Linked DNA regions of Homo sapiens: regions 1 and 3 are each linked to region 2. Evidence: promoter capture Hi-C in 16 types of primary human blood cells and fetal thymus (Javierre and others, 2016). All regions are on one chromosome and are shown on one strand. Each heading gives the region's core, a stretch centred on a gene start or on the middle of the fragment in contact. The rest is flanking DNA. Distances are from core to core; before and after follow the strand shown. Region 1 overlaps SELE (selectin E). Region 2 holds the start of SELP (selectin P). Region 3 holds the start of SELL (selectin L).

Region 1 (3,562 bases), core at 303-2,802, 100 kb before region 2:
TTCCCAGATGCATTGTGAGGATTCAATAGCATGGTTCATGGAAAGTACCTCATACAGTGCTTCTTGGTGCATACTAAGTGCTCAATAAAGCTTAGTTATTCTGATTATTATTCTACTACAAAATGGGTATACTATAATGTTGTGAGTGAGTGTGGATAAGGTACCTAGTGGGTGGCAGTCACAAAAGAGATAAACAATAAGTCGCTGTTTCTTCATACGTACTTCTTACTTTTGAAAAGATGAGAAAAGTCTGGGCCATGTCACAAACATTGCCAAAAATAAGACAATAAAAAGCACAGTTGTCAGAGTTAAACCACAACAGTACCAAACTCTACCATTTCTTTTCTTTTTCTCCCACTAGTGCTTCTCATTAAAGAGAGTGGAGCCTGGTCTTACAACACCTCCACGGAAGCTATGACTTATGATGAGGCCAGTGCTTATTGTCAGCAAAGGTACACACACCTGGTTGCAATTCAAAACAAAGAAGAGATTGAGTACCTAAACTCCATATTGAGCTATTCACCAAGTTATTACTGGATTGGAATCAGAAAAGTCAACAATGTGTGGGTCTGGGTAGGAACCCAGAAACCTCTGACAGAAGAAGCCAAGAACTGGGCTCCAGGTGAACCCAACAATAGGCAAAAAGATGAGGACTGCGTGGAGATCTACATCAAGAGAGAAAAAGATGTGGGCATGTGGAATGATGAGAGGTGCAGCAAGAAGAAGCTTGCCCTATGCTACACAGGTAGGGAGTTTGCGGCAGCAGTGGGAGGTAGTTTCAGTGTGTGGGCATCTTGGCAAATTTACAGCATGCAAAAACTGCTCTCTATTGTGGTCATTTTATGTTCCAAAAGATTCTGTTTAACTGCTAAAGTTTCTCTCTTTTGCTGTTTTGTGTGAATGTGGGCAAGAATATGTGGATATGTATATATATACACACACACACATATATACACACACACATATATGTGTGTGTGTATATATATATAGCCTACAGCATTTATATACATTTTATATATATACATACACACATATACACACATATATGTGTGTATGTATATATATAAAATATATATAAATACTGTAGGCAAATATGTAGTTCTTTACATATAAAAATGCACACACACAATACATATTTTAATTACTTGTTTATTTGTGGTAGGGGAACTGTCTTCAGAGTTTGTGAAGAAGTAAATTTTCTACGGTAGGTGCCAGCCACAGCTATACATTAGCATCAAGGTTTAGGATAGGTGGGCCTGAAACTCAGATTTGGAACTTTGTAAAACACTTCAGTTAAAGTCTATGGCACTCTGTAGGACTGCTGATGTCTCTGTTGCACACTGTTGATTCTAAAATCAAAGGCACTCAGTATAAGCACAGTAATAGTCCTCCTCATCATGCTTTGTATTTTCCGTAGCTGCCTGTACCAATACATCCTGCAGTGGCCACGGTGAATGTGTAGAGACCATCAATAATTACACTTGCAAGTGTGACCCTGGCTTCAGTGGACTCAAGTGTGAGCAAAGTAAGTCTGGTTCTTGCCTCTTTCTTCACTTGAGATGGTAGCACCATCTCACGTCCTAGCTGGCATTAGAGTCAGGTCTGCATGCCTTCCCTTCCCTGGTGCAGATGGTGTCATATGGTGATCGTGAGCTGAGACTATGAAGTCAGACCCTGCTGGGTTTGAGTCCTAGATTCACCAGTTATTTATTTTGGCACCTTGACAAGATAGTTTAACTCTCTATGTCAGTTTTCTCATTGTAAAATGAGGATAATAATAGTGTGAACTTCATAGGCTCATGGTTACATGGTGCCTGGCACACAGGACACATTCAATAAACTGTAATTCTGTGTCCCTGCGAGGAACATGTACTCACCTCATCTAGGTGGTAACAAGACGTTGCAGTAGAAATGAGTGAGTTACAGAGTCCAGGGTATCTTGGTTCATGCTCTGGCCTCTGGCTCTGTAATGACTAGCCGTGTAGCATGGAGCAAGTCACTTGAATGAAATGAGGTCTCAGTTCCTAAATTTGTACATTAAGAGAGTTAGATGAGCTTCTCTCCAAGATTCCTTAGCACAGCGTTGTGCAGTAGAGCTTTTGTGATAATGGAAATGTTCCATAGCTGTGTTTTCCAGTGTGTACCTATGAGCCACATGTGGTTATTGAGTACTTGAAATGTGGCTGGTGACACTGAGGAACTGAATTTTAAATGTTATTTGATTTCAACGAATTCAAGTTTAAATTTGAGTAGCCACACAGATAGTGGCTACTATAGTAGACAGTGCAGCATTAGGGTTTTAAAATTTGTAATGTATTCTAGTACTTAAATTTGAAATATAGCTTTGTGAATGGTTCTCATCCTGGTTGGAAGCTTACTGTAGTATTTTTAGCAGTTGTGAGAAAAGTAACAAGAAATTTGTTGTGGTACCTAAGTTTGCTGTGTTTGTTCATATAATTTGAACAGTTTTGAGGTAAACACAATTACACTACTCTCCCCATATCACTCAATATTTCTTTTTTATGGTTGTCATCACTGCTTTTTTGTTGTTGTTGTTATGGATCAGCATTTTCTTGAATAAAAGAAAAGGGGTAGAATTACAGTCAATTTTACAAATTCCATTAGAAATTTTATAAATTTTTAAACTAAAAAAAAAAAAAACCAAACTGTAGTTCTAGTTTCCAGTGTTCTTATCTGTTAAAGGTGAGAGATGAGCAGAACTGATTTGGGTTTCTTTTTCAGTTGTGAACTGTACAGCCCTGGAATCCCCTGAGCATGGAAGCCTGGTTTGCAGTCACCCACTGGGAAACTTCAGCTACAATTCTTCCTGCTCTATCAGCTGTGATAGGGGTTACCTGCCAAGCAGCATGGAGACCATGCAGTGTATGTCCTCTGGAGAATGGAGTGCTCCTATTCCAGCCTGCAATGGTAAATCCCTCTGAGAATGCACAGAACGTTCTGTAACTCATCCCTCATTGCTTCTGTTTTTTGATTCAACTTACATTTTCAAAACTTCAGGGAAAGTTTTTTTTTTGTTTTTGTTTTTAATACAATTTGTTCTCTCAGCCAATGTATATTGCCAACCCAGTACCTGCTTGGGTTGAGAGAGGTTTTTTTATTCTATGCTTGAAATGGGTGTTTCTGAGGCTCTGGTGATTTGTAAGGGAGACCATAAAACAATAAAGCTCTAGAAATCTCAATGGATTTCTCATCTTGTTTCCCTGTTTAACTTTTCCAAGCCATGGGACTAACTTAAGACCATGATAGTCAAGCAGTCTTAGTATCTCTTTTTCTCTCTTAATTTTATCTTTCTGAACCAGAGGCCAAAAAAAGAAAAATCAGTTCTTCAGGCTCTGATGGGCTAAAATAAATGAATAGCCTACGTATGTCAGTACTAGTCATAACTCCTAATCTGGAATCTATTTTTTTTAAATTTTTACCTCACGTAAATGATAACATAGATTAGAGACCACTCAGCATAGGCAAAGTGGAAATCAGAAAAGATAGAATATCCATGAAAAAGAATAAAAGCTTTTATTCTGGCTGTGCATGTCCCTAAGAA
Region 2 (3,781 bases), core at 957-3,456:
GGAAATATAGAGAGACCCTATCTCTAGAGATTTTTTTTTTTAATTAGCCAGTAGTGATGGCACACATCTATAGTCCCAGCTACTCAGGAGGCTGAGGTGGGAGAATTGCTTGAGCCCAGGAGGTCAAGGCTGGAGCAAGCAGTAATCATGCCACTGCACTCCAGCCTGGGCCGCAGAGTGAGACCCTGTCTCAAAAAAAGAACCTACTAGTCTACATACCACACTTCCTCATCCCCATCTGAGACTATATATATTTTTTCTAACATGAGGCAATGCCAAAAAGAGGGGCTGGTGAGTGAAAGTAAGAACAGAAAGACATGGAGGCAAGTCTTATAGAATAATAGCCAACACTTAAACTTACACTTAACAGCGTGATAGGTATTGTTCCAAACACATTAAATTCATTTAATGGTCCTTACATGTCTATGTATTTGGTGATTATTATCCTTATTATTCACATTGCTGAGTGTATTATTCTGTTCTCATGATGCTGATAGAGACATACCCGAGACTGGATAACTTATTAAAAAAAAAAAGGTTTAATGGACTCACAGTTCCACGTGGATGGGGAGTCCTCACAATCATGGTAGAAAGCAAAAGACACGTCTTACATGGCAGCAGGGAAGAGAGAGAAATGAGAACCAAACAAAAGGGGTTTCCCCTTATAAAACCATCAGCTCTCATGCGACTTATTCACTACCATGAGAACAGTATGGGGGAAACCACCCCCATGATTCAATGATCTACCAGGTGCCTCCCACAACCTGTGGGAATTATGGGAGCTACAATTCCAGATGAGATTTGGGTGGGGACACAGCCAAACCACATCACTGAGGAAACTGAGTTATAGGGAGATTAGTAACGCCCAACACAGCTGGTAGGTGGTGGAGCCAGGCAGTCTGACTCTAGGGTCTGGACTCTGAACTGCATCATGCTGCCAAGAAGTTCCTCATTTTTTCCTCTCTCTAAGTTTCCCTTATTCCCCTACAGTCATTCCTTCAACAGCATTTCCTTCACCATCTTTTCTACTTCTACTATATAATTAATTTTTTCTTCTTGGTCCCAAATTCCAACGTGCAAATGCAGCCTTATATACCCTAATTCATCTTTACCTTTAGACTTTCTTCCAATGTTTCTACTTCATTCCATTTTAAATTTATCCATGAGATGCCTATTTACAAGCTGTAACCATCATGAAGTGAATGAAGAATAATACCTACTACTGTACAATAGAATTCCAAGAGTATAAATAGGAGTTATGGCTTTCTGACTTGAAACTAAATACTTGATACTTGATTTTGCTGTCTGAGATCAATCTGAAAAGTAATAATAATCACTAACATTTGTTGAGCATCAATTGTGGGCCAAGTGTCATTTCAATCACTCTGTACATATTAACTCATTTCATCCTACAACAACCCGGTGAGGCAAGTTCTGTTATTCTGTTTTACAGTTGAGGAAACAGAGGCATAGAGAGCTTAAGTAGTTTGCCCAGTAGATAGCCAGAAGAGGAGCCAGGATGGGTCTCGGGCAGTTTAACAGCACAGCTGAAGTCTTAACCACTATGCCAACAGCTTTTTGGTCCTACACATCCCATGGGAAGAGGAAAATAAAAAGGTATCTATTTGTATACCTTTTTATTTCTGATATAAGAAGCAGAATTCCTTTCACATGACCTATGTCTATTTAATACGTCATTTTGAAACTTACCAATAAAATTTCCCAAGCGCCAGAAAACTGTTAGTGGCTTTTTCCATTTCTCTCTATTTTTTTTTGTGCTACTAATTTTGCTTCTTTCCCTCAGAAGGCTGCCGGAATAGTAAACATTCACTGACATGTCATAATTACTGGAAAATGGGCACTGGAAAATCACATTGTAATTAATTCAAAGCATGTTTTCCAAATGTACTACTTTAAATTGGAGCTTATATCATAATCCAAGGAAACCTTTGTGTGTGTACTGTTCCCACATTGCTCAGCCTGGGATATCCAGGAGTAATTCACCTTGCGCCTGCCTCCAGACCATCTTCCATGGAAGGGGGTGACCCCTTGCCTCTTGGCAACCACTATTTCTAAGCTGCCAACATTACTCTTGCATTATCAACATTCTAACTTCATGGGAAGGGCTGTGGTGAGTTTCTGGAATGTGAATAGGAAGTTGTTTTTCTAAACAGCCTGACACTGAGGGGAGGCAGTGAGACTGTAAGCAGTCTGGGTTGGGCAGAAGGCAGAAAACCAGCAGAGTCACAGAGGAGATGGTGAGTTTATTTTTTTCTGCATGGGAAGTGGTTGAAGTGAGTTGGAGTGGTATGGAGTAAAGTCAGGCAGGTAAAGGTTCAGAAAGTGAGGAACAGCGATAGCCATGGAGTTTTATGTTGAATTGCCTATTAGATTTTGTGAGTACTTTTAAACTTGCTGTCCACTTTGACCCTCCCAACACCCTTGTGAGTTGAGGTTGCTATTTCTATTTTACAAATAAAGCCATCGTGGTTTACAGAGGCTGTGTTTTATCTAAGCTTCACTGTTAGGCTACATGATGTTGGGATCTGGGGCCTGTCCTCTGGCTCCGCAGCTGCTGTTCCTCCTACTAGAATTTATAGGGGCTCTCTGAGAATAGATCATGGTAAACCTGTCACCCCATTTTCCAAGACTGTACTTCTCTCTGGGATAAATGATGGAATAAATGGAAGACTGGGTAGGTGCCCTGGGACAAGCTTACAATTGAATAGTTTCTCATCCCCATCCCTCCCATTTCTTTCTGTGAGCCTATGAATCTTCTGGGACTGATCTGGAATATCCACATAGTTTCCTTTTCTGCCCTAAGACTCAATCTTGTTAATGACTCAGTTTCTTCTTCTATAAAATGGATATAGTAATAATACTCTATAGTTTCATCATGAGGATTAAATAAGATTTTGCTGAAAAGCATCCAGATCTGAGCCTGACACATAGTAAGTGATTAGTAAATGTTAGCCATTATTGTTACAATAAAAAGAAAATTCTTAGGAATAGTGGGGTTTAGGATTCAGGGAAGATCCAAGGATAGCTAGGCATTTTGAACTCAGCAATGTTATATGCTCATGGATAAGATGCACGTGGTTAGGCTACTTCTAATTCAGGGAAGATCCAAGGATAGCTAGGCATTTTGAACTCAGCAATGTTATATGCACCTAGATAAAATGCACATGGTTAAGCTACTTCCAATTTTCCTCAGACTTTCCAAGAGTATCCCACATAGTCCCAGGGTCCGAAATCCTGCAGTCTGTGGCTATGGAGGAACCAGGCAGGTCTCTGTTTTTGAGCACCTTTCTGTGGGACTCCAGAAAAAAGTACCGCATACACCTGATTCATCCTACTGCTTTGCTTTACTATAGCACACTTTTCAAGTACTTATAATGTGGGTTTCTGTGTTGGGGAAAACAGGAATAAGAGTATGATAAAGAGAAGAGGAAGGAGTTTGAGCCTGTCTTAAGTTTGAACCACAATGACCTAAGGATATGAATTACTTTTGTCCTGTCTTTTTGCATGTCATACTTCTGAATTGGTTAACTTAAATGAGCAGTTATTCCTCTCTTCCTTCTACTCTCCTTGGCATCCTCCTCTATTTCAAAGGTATGAACTTATTGGATCAGAGAGTTCTTTGAGATTTTGATGAAAGTTACAACTTGTCTTTCCCAGATGAAAGCAAAAACATCGACATAAACACCAACCTTTAGAGACAACCACAGGAGGTTCCCAGACCTCCATGTGGATCCCAGGGTAAGAACCCTTCTCGATTGCC
Region 3 (3,984 bases), core at 1,183-3,682, 81 kb before region 2:
ACCTTGGGCAGTATGGTCATTTTCATGATATTGATTCTTCCTACCCATGAGCATGGAATGTTTTTCCATTCATTTGTGTCCTCTCTTATTTCCTTGAGCAGTGGTTTGTAGTTCTCCTTGAATAGGTCCTTCACATTCCTTGTAAGTTGGATTCCTAGGTATTTTATTCTCTTTGTAGCAATCGTGAATGGGAGTTCACTCATGATTTGGCTCTCTGTTTGTCTATTATTGCTGTATAGGAATTCTTGTGATTTTTTCACATTGATTTTGTAACCTGAGACTTTGCTGAAGTTGCTGATCAGTTTAAGGAGATTTTGGGCTGAGACAATGGGATTTTCTAAATATACAATCATGTCATCTGCAAACAGACACAATTTGACTTCCTCTCTTCTATTTGAATACACTTTATTTCTTTCTCTTGCCTGATTGCCCTGGCCAGAACTTCCAATACTATGTTGAACAGGAGTGGTGAGAGAGGCATACTTGTCTTGTGCCAGTTTTTAAAGGGAACGCTTTCAGTTTTTGCCCATTCAGTATGCTATTGGCTGTGGGTTTGTCATAAATAGCTCTTATTATTTTGAGATACGTTCCATCAATACCTAGTTTATTGAGAGTTTTTAGCATGAAGGGGTGTTGAATTTTATCCAAGGCCTTTTCTGCATCTATTGAGATAATCACGTGGTTTTTGTGATTGGTTCTGTTTACGTAATGGATTCTGTTTATTGATTTGTGTATGTTGAACCAGCCTTGCATTCCAGGGATGAAGCCAACTTGATTGTGGTTGATAAGCTTTTTGATGTGCTGCTGGATTCAGTTTGCCGTATTTTATTGAGTATTTTCGCAATGATGTTCATCAGGGATATTGGCCTGAAATTTTCTTTTTTTGTTGTGTCTCTGCCAGGTTTTAGTATCAGGATGATGCTGGCCTCATAAAATGAGTGAGGGAGGAGTTCCTCTTTTTCTATTCTCTGGAATAGTTTCAGAAGGAATGGTACCAGCACCTCTTTGTACCTCTGGTAGAATTTGGCTGTGAATCCATCTGGTCCTGGGCTTTTTTTAGTTGGTAGGCTATTAATTGCTGCCTTAATTTCAGAACTTGTTATTAGTCTATTCAGGGATTTGACTTCTTCCTGGTTTAGTCTTGGGAGGGTGTATGTGTCCAGGAATTTATCCATTTCTTCTAGATTTTCTAGTTTATTTGTGTAAAGATGTTTATAGTAATCTCTGATGGTAGTTTGTATTTCTACGGGATCAGTGGTAATATCCCCTTTACCATTTTTTATTGTGTCTATTGATTCTTCTTTCTTATTAGTCTAGCTAGTGGTCCATCTATTTTGTTAATCTTTTCAAAATGCAGCTCCTGGATTTATTGATTTTTTGAAGGCTTTTTCGTGTCTCTACCTCCTATGGTTCTGCTCTGATCTTAGTTATTTCTTGTCTTTCGCTAGTTTTTGAATTTGTTTCTTAACCTCTTTGAGACTCTTTAGAATGGGGATAATAATCATATCTATAGCAGAGAGCTGTTATAAAGATTAAACAATATAATAAATATGGGGCGCTGAGCTTCAGAGTTTTTGTTGTTGTTATTATTATTTTCCTAAAAATGCAAATCTGATTTGCATTTGACTCATTGACTCACATCAGTGGGTCTTCCTTTTTATTGTCCTTCATCATATGGGTCCTAATTTCACATGCAGTCTTATAAAACCATCTCATTTTATAGTCCAAGAATATTAAAGGTACTTGTAGGCTCCCAAACCTACACGGTGAAAAGCTAGAGAGCATGGGCTCTCTTCAGGGGTTAACTTCAGGAAGTGCCACTAACAAGGACGTCCACTAGGTGGTGAGCAAGGAAAGACGGAGGTGAAGGAACCGAAACGAGTCAAGTCCACTGCTTAGCTCTACTGAAGTTTTGCAAACATCATAAATATGTCTGAAATGCAGTTTTGATTTGTAGTATTTGCAATTTCCAAGGGCCATTTACCACAGGTAGCCAAGAGTTAGTTTAGCATTTATGAAAAAGATAGGGGAGGGTGGTGGAAAAGAAGGAGGAGGAGGAGAGAGAGAAGGAGGAAGAGGAGAACAAGAACCAAACAAAAACAAGAACAAGAACAAGTAGAAGAAGAGGAGCAGGAGGAAAAAGAAGAGGAAGAAGAACAGCAACAACAATGAGTGAAGGAGGAGGAGGGTAAGGAAAGATGCATAGGAGAATGGAAGGAAGGATAGAAAGGAGGGAAGGAAGAGAGAATCTAGTCACATTACTTTCTGATCAGCAGTTCATTTTTGTCTCAGTGGGAGGCAATAGAGGCCAGTCTAGGAAAGGGGTGGGGAAAGAGGAAAGAGAAGTGCAGGAGGAAGGGGAGGGAAAAGGGGAGGAGGAGGAGGATGTGAGACTGGGTTAGAGAAATGAAAGAAAGCAAGGCTTTCTGTTGACATTCAGTGCAGTCTACCTGCAGCACAGCACACTCCCTTTGGGCAAGGACCTGAGACCCTTGTGCTAAGTCAAGAGGCTCAATGGGCTGCAGAAGAACTAGAGAAGGACCAAGCAAAGCCATGGTGAGCCTTTCAGCCTAAAAGACGTTTAGATGCTCAGATAGAAACTCTTGGGGTTGTAGAGGCAGGTGGCAAGGATAGGAATCACCCCATTTCAATTCTGGTTTTAAATAATATAGAAACTAAACATTTTCTCAGACCCTCAAAAAAAGTGATCCTGAAATCTTTCTTCTCAGATATGCTGATTTCCTCTTCTTGACTTTGTCTCTGGGGAGACTCTTGAAGAAATACTATTGAAATCAGATCTTTTGCAATAAACACTGTGTCTACCTGAGAAGTGATATGCTTTGGAAGATAGAATTTTTTTAAAATTATACTTTAAGTTCTAGGGTACATGTGCACAACATACAGGTTTGTCACACATGTATACATGTGCCATGTTGGTGTGCTGCACCCATTAACTCGTCATTTACATTAAGTATATTTTAAGGTGTGCAGGAAATTTGTGACTTTGTCATTTCAGTTGCTCAAAAAGGTATTTCTTTTTATTAAAAAAAGAAATACTTTTCTTTCCTGGTGTCTGGCTATCTAATTTTTTTTTTTTTTAGGTATTTGAGGCATTGACCCATTATGATCAAGAGTGAGGCTATAACATTAAATATAAGCATCAATAGTTAATTAAGCAGCAACAATACTTTAAAAAATATACATAGTAAATATTAAATAGTTTTATCTAATAGCTCAGCAGAAAAGCAGGTATAAAAATTACCAAACCATAGAAAAAATTCAGGGCAGTACCGATTAGCAACTTGAGACTAAAGCGTAAAAATAAAATAGAACAAAACAAAACTGTGCATCAGTTCTGATGTAAATTTGAAGTAATTTTTCATCTATGTCTGAGAAACCTGTTACCTCAGACAGGGTTAGTAGACATATGTGTTTTATTCTGATTATTAAGAAAGTTGTAAGCACCACCTCAAAGGCTATAAATGTGTGGTTTAAGAGTATACATCTAAATATAATTTTGTATTTCATTTGCAGATATTTCCATGGAAATGTCAGAGCACCCAGAGGGACTTATGGAACATCTTCAAGTTGTGGGGGTGGACAATGCTCTGTTGTGGTATGTTATGATATTTATATATCGCTAAGTCTATTTTACTTATATTCATTTTTCTTAAATATCCACTAGTTATACATAGTCTAAGGGAAAATTATTTCACAGAGCTGTTAATTCTATCCCTTCTGTAAACATCTCTTTTCTTCTTACCTTTAGTTCTTCCCCAGAAACTCCTGAACACTATTTTTAACCTATAATAGCCCATGCTGTAGAGTTCAAATCCCAATAACCCCACAAAATCCCTCAATTATAAAGGAATAATGTTAATTAAGAAATCTCTGTTAAGGTACTTACAATCTGTACCAAATATTTAGCACCTCATTTTCTATTTTTTATTCATAGTTCAGTGTACATTAATGTCATTTCTACAA

Evidence for each region. Contacts are between HindIII fragments. The CHiCAGO score rates a contact against its expected background, and 5 or more counts as called.
Region 1: a fragment that was not itself captured here is called in contact with the fragment with the promoter of SELP in region 2 in 1 of 17 cell types (neutrophils); the score reaches 5.5 in neutrophils.
Region 3: the fragment with the promoter of SELL here is called in contact with the fragment with the promoter of SELP in region 2 in 12 of 17 cell types (neutrophils, non-activated CD4 T cells, total B cells and 9 more); the score reaches 10.2 in neutrophils.

What each region holds. Positions count from the first base shown.
Region 1 is chr1:169,729,798-169,733,359 of GRCh38, reverse strand. It overlaps SELE (selectin E), which reads left to right. Exons shown (of 14, transcript NM_000450.2): 3 at 362-745; 4 at 1,418-1,525; 5 at 2,743-2,928. Among named protein-coding and RNA genes, the nearest start is that of SELE, 2.5 kb to the left of the region's middle. The HindIII fragment of the contact is 1,647 bases long and covers 729-2,375 here.
Region 2 is chr1:169,628,549-169,632,329 of GRCh38, reverse strand. SELP (selectin P) reads left to right here and starts at 2,206. Exons shown (of 17, transcript NM_003005.4): 1 at 2,206-2,258. The coding sequence starts at 2,256. The HindIII fragment of the contact is 5,122 bases long and covers 1-2,518 here.
Region 3 is chr1:169,710,068-169,714,051 of GRCh38, reverse strand. It overlaps SELL (selectin L), which reads left to right and starts at 2,432. Exons shown (of 9, transcript NM_000655.5): 1 at 2,432-2,556; 2 at 3,535-3,616. The coding sequence starts at 2,554. The HindIII fragment of the contact is 5,813 bases long and covers 792-3,984 here.